Regions from separate parts of the Homo sapiens genome. Here region 2 is linked to region 1. Evidence: promoter capture Hi-C in human tissues and cell types (Jung and others, 2019). All regions are on one chromosome and are shown on one strand. Each heading gives the region's core, a stretch centred on a gene start or on the middle of the fragment in contact. The rest is flanking DNA. Distances are from core to core; before and after follow the strand shown. Region 1 holds the start of KIAA0087 (KIAA0087 lncRNA). Region 2 has its middle 21 kb from the start of LINC03095.

What was found. Contacts are between HindIII fragments. The study calls those that stand out against the background at their distance.
Region 2: a fragment that was not itself captured here is called in contact with the fragment with the promoter of KIAA0087 in region 1 in 1 of the 25 tissues and cell types used here (neural progenitor cells).

The regions. Positions count from the first base shown.
Region 1 is chr7:26,537,488-26,540,145 of GRCh38, forward strand. It overlaps KIAA0087 (KIAA0087 lncRNA), which reads right to left and starts at 1,338. Exons shown (of 2, transcript NR_022006.1): 1 at 919-1,338. It overlaps LINC02981 (long intergenic non-protein coding RNA 2981), which reads left to right. Exons shown (of 5, transcript NR_148502.1): 5 at 766-2,658. The HindIII fragment of the contact is 4,605 bases long and covers 1-2,658 here.
Region 2 is chr7:26,571,256-26,573,913 of GRCh38, forward strand. No RefSeq gene overlaps it. Among named protein-coding and RNA genes, the nearest start is that of LINC03095, 21 kb to the left of the region's middle. The HindIII fragment of the contact is 8,227 bases long and covers 1-2,658 here.

The sequences.
Region 1 (2,658 bases), core at 88-2,587:
CCTGAGGTTTCAGAGGAAAGCAGTGAGGAGCAGGGTGGCACACAGTACTGGAGTCAGCTGAGTGGCCTGAACCTTAGCTCGAGCTGTGTGACCTGGGTTGAGTTACTCACCTTCTACGAGGCTTAGTTTCCACCTCTGTGAAATGGGGATAAAGTGTCTGCCTCAAAGGGTCATTAAGGGGGCTAGATTGGTGAATGCACAGGCAGCTTCTGGAGAAGGAATTTTCCCAGGACTAGGAAGAAGAACTGGTGAGTGGGAGGCTTTGAAGGTGAGTGAGGGATGATAACAGGTCTATGAAGAAGTTCAGGCTGGGAGAGGTCTGGCCTTGGAGTGGGTTGGGGGTGCTCTGGGCAACCCTTTTCAAGGGAGGAGAAAATGGAGTAACCGTCAGGACAGAAAACAGGGTGCCTTGGTGCTAAGTTCCAGGGGGACATTGCCTTGGGGGAAGAAAAAGACATCTTGGAACCCCTATCTGTTTACTACTGTTCATTTCTTAATTCTTTATTTGTAATGAAGATGGGAAGGTTTACAACCTTGACAGTTCCATTTATTTCTACCATTTTCACCTAAAACAATACAAGGAACATCAATTATTTCCACCCTGGTTTCAACTGCAACTGGATAAAGTCGGCTTAATTAAACATGTTCAGTGTCTGAGGGTCTGTTTTGTTTCTCTGTCTGTCTGTCTGTCTGTATCTTTCTTTCTCTTCTACCAACCACCACACCATCCCTGTCCCCTTCTTCCTTCTCCTCTCCGTTTTCTAGCCTCACAGCTGGGCACAGGAAAACACGGAATAAGGACCCAGTGAACTAAAGGGGCTGAAGCCATGACTAGGAATCATATGCATGAAGAAGCCCAGAAGAGCCAATCCTCCCCAGAAGGGCACCCGGAGACCACTAAGGAAGGAGGGAGGATACCTTCTGTTCCCGTGTTCAGGCTCCAATGTATCCAGGTCACAGGAGGCTGCCTCTCCAGGCAGAGAAACTGATCCGTCCCTATCAGTGCCAGGCAGAGGGCAGGGGATTTCGCACCTGAGCAAGGGTTGGGATGACTCCCAAGCTTCCATTCTCCCTGGAGTTCCTCCCGAGGGTCTCTGTGACACAGAGGAGGAAGCAGGAGCTTTCTTTGCATAATCATGGTCAAATATTTATATTTGTTTAGGATTTGCTTCTATAGGATGTTTTCGTCATTCAAATCTATTTCCAAAATAAATCTGGATCTCTTTTATAAGAAAATGCAATGAAAACACCAGAATGATAGAGTAAGAAAATAGAACTGAAATTACTGAAAAGGAGCTGAGGAATTAGATGTTGCCAGGCATCTGAGATGAGATGATTAAAACAGCCAGGTGGCTCTGAGCTAAGGCAAAAGGCAGAATCTGGGGCAACACAGTTTATATCATCTGACAACATAAAGCATGCACATCCTTTGTGTCAAGCCGCACTGCTTCCTGGAACAAACTCAAGGCAGAATTTATTACCTGGGTTCCTGTTTAAGTGCATGTCGAATGACCAGTTGATGAAAGCCTTCAAATAAAGTTTTGCAAAAGAACAAAGAATGAGACGTGGAGTACTGACCCTCTCTGAAAGGATACCAGAATTAAGACTACAGAAGCCGACCCAACATTTGCTCACTACCTTTTAAATTGGACTTAATGCCATATTTTAAAAAATAACCACTTTTAAAATAATTTTTGCTTATATCAAAAGTAATACAGGTGAATTTCAGGAAATTTGTAAAATACAGCTTCAAAGAGAGAGGTGGAGAGAGAGAGAGAGAGAGAAATCTATCATCTATCACTCACCACTATTAACATTTTAGTGTCATCTTCCCATGTTTTTGTTTATGCATAGATATGCATATCTATTTTGCAAAGATAAGAAATTACTATATCTTTTAAACGTTTTTATTTGATAATGTACTATGAATATTTCCCATTCAATTAAATACCTCTACAGTGACACTGAATGCTTATGATACTGTATTGATATTAATATTGTAGAATACATCAGGAAGATATTATTACAATATGTTTAACCAATCCCCTGGATGCTAGATATTTGGGTTTCTAACATTTCATCTTTTTAAATAATTCTGTGATGAACATCTGTTCGCAGGGTACCCTCCATGACCAGTTGTGTTTCAGAGAAGGCAGATCTAGTCCATTCAAGGCCAGGATCCCCCGGAGGTCAGTACATTATTTGCCCAGTGAACTGTGGGCATATCTATACTTTTTGCACTTTTCCAGGCAGGAAGGAGGAAGTAGTACTGAGAACCCACTGTCTTGGGTTAAGGAGCATTCTCTGGGCTGCTTAGGGGAGAAGATTTCTATCCCAAGGTCCTGCAGCCTTGGGGTAAGATGGGAGCAGAGAAGACAGAGTGTGGGGCCACTGTGGAGGCAGCAGGGAGGGGTTCCTTGTGGCCACTGATCGGAGCCCTCATATTCCTTGTGGGGAGGCTCTAATTTCTCCAGAGATGCTTCTCTACTTGGAGGTCTGCCCTGTGTCGGGAGCATTAGTGGCCCTGCAGAGAGGTGGGACGTTATTTGGATACTCTTGCTCGTAGGGAGTTTGTTGCCTCCCAAAAGGTGTGTGGCATTTGTAAGTTGTTCTCCTTTTCCATGGTTCTTCAGAAGACTTGAATATGGTTTGTAATCT
Region 2 (2,658 bases), core at 120-2,619, 34 kb after region 1:
AAAAGAAAGAAGGAAGGAAATCCTTTCAAACTCATTTTGTGATACCAAACGTAGACAAAAACAGATCAAGATCCAAAAATACTGAATAAAATAAAAGTAAACCAAAATTACCAACAAATAAGAGATCAAGTAGGGTTTATCCCAGAAATGCACTGTTGGTTCAATATTAAAAAAATTTATTACTTTAGTTTGCCACATTAAGAGATTAAAGGAGAAAAACCTCATGATCATCTCAATAGGTGAAGAATTCAGTAAAATTCTAAAACCGTTCATCATAAGGACCCTAGAAAAATTATTGCAAGCTAAATGCAATACATGAATGTGTATGAATATTTGTAGGAGCAAAGAACTGGAAGCAACACAGGTGTCCATGAACAGTAGATTGCATGAATAAATTGTTTTATATTTGTACCAAGGAATATGGCCACAGACAACGATGTGGATGAATTTCACAATGTTGGGCAAAAAGAGCATGACAGCAGCACATCTACAGACATATCTTTTAGGGACAGGCAGAAAACTTTAGGTAAAGCAGGGTAGTGATTAACACAAAATACACAACGGCATTTCCTCAGGGCAGTGGGGGAAAAGAATACATGAGGGTGGCCCTCAGGAGGGCTGAGTTGTGGGCAATATTTTATTGAGTGGGTGGTAGGTACCTAGGTGCTCATTTGATTATTATCCTTTAAACCAGCAAAAATTTAATATATACCCTTTTATATGCATGATAACTTTTATCACTAAAAAAAGAAAAACGGTCCGGGCACGGTGGCTCATGCCTGTAATCCCAGCACTTTGGGAGGCTGGAGGCGGGTGGATCACCTGAGGTCAGGAGTTCGAGACCAGCCTGGCCAACATGGTGAAACCCCATCTCTACTAAAAATACAAAAATTAGCCAGGTGTGGTGGCAGGTGCCTGTATACCTAGTTACTCAGGAGGCTGAGGCAGGAGAATCGCTTGAACCTGAGAGGCAGAGGTTGCAGTGAGCCGAGATCACGCCATTGCACTTCAGCCTGGGCCTCAGAGCAAGACTCCATCTCAAAAAAAAGAAAAGAAAAATAAAACTTTTCCTTGGCATTCCCTGCATTCTTATAGCTTCACCAAGTCAATCGTTCACCTTTTCCACCATCAATACTGATTCTTTAGAAACTCAAACCAAAAGAGAAGTGAGTGGAAGAACAAGTGACACTCCTTAGGCTTCTCCCACTTCTCTGGGGTCTCAGCTGTGTGGGCCAGCATTGTTTCCATGGTTCTTTCAATAGGCTTCTTATCAACTTTGTTATGCCTCAGCCTAAAGCAAATCTAGCTTAGCTGAGATTTAATTACCCTTTATACTTTCTATTATAATCTGTGTATGCCATACATGAGCAGCTACTATTCATTCTATCATTTTCTTGGACACTTACTATGTGCCAGGAGCTAGACTAAATATGTCAGTCATTGGCTCATTTTCCTTCTCCCTCCTGAGGTACCTGCCATAATTATCCTCATTTCTCAGATAAGGAAACTGGTCACGTGACTAGGATGTGGAAGAGCTGAGATTTGGATGCAATGCTGTTTGTCCACATGCTGTATTGTCAGAAAATAAAACTGGTGCTTTGAGGAATTTGATTTGGATAAAGCAAAATGGCATTTGAAATAGCATCTGTGCTGAGGAATGCATTTATTGCCCTTGTGTGGGGACAGAATATCTAATATAGTAGGAAAGCCACATTATACCAAGCTTTCACTGAGTGTAGTTGCTGGCTTCAACTGGCCCAGATGTGTGTCTGCATCCGGGGATTGACCCAGATGTGTGTCTGCAGGTACACAGCCTAGTGCTCTGCATCAAGAAGAGCTGCAATTATGTGCTGCTGTATTTCTTTATAATTACCCAAAGGAAGCTCTAGGACTTAAAGACCACAGGCATACTTTCTTTACAATCCTCAGGCCAGCCTAAATCAATTCCAACTATAACTGTCCTTGGGGTTCCAAAAAGACCTCTTATTAAAATGATCCATAATTTTGATTAGTTTCTATTGCTCTCAGCAGAGGCCTGGGCCTGATGGCTGTGATTCACACATATTCTTCCTGAATAGAGGCTGGACTGCTTATGTGTTTGAGGTGGTCCTCAGAGAGGAAGGGGTTGGCCCTCTAGACCCAAGTCAATTTGACTTTGCTCTCATTATTGCTACTCTGGATTGTGTCTGCAGGTAGGCAGCCTGGCCCACTCCCACCCATGTTCCCAAGCTCAGTTCAGAGGAGGCTTACTGCGGGGAGAGGGGCTCTGCGGCTTGGAATCTACCTCACAATAGAAATCGCTATCACCTGAGACCTACTGTACAGTTGAGATGCCCCATATATATCATCTCATTGAATGATGTGTTATTACTAATTTGTATGAAAGAGAAAGAACCTGAGACTCAGAGAAGTGAATCACACTGAACAATGTCACAAAATTAAAAAGGGGCAGAGCTAGGATTTGAACCCTAATCAGCCAGACCCTCTCCTCCTCCTACTGTGCATGGCACCTACATGAGAAGAGTCGTTCTGCTTGGATGAGAGTAACAAATCAATGGACAGAACGTCACACCAGGGTCAGGAGTTAGGTTGTTCTCCCATGCACCCTCTCTCTACAACACGGACTCTGAGGGGTTGATCTCCTTCAAACAGAAGCAC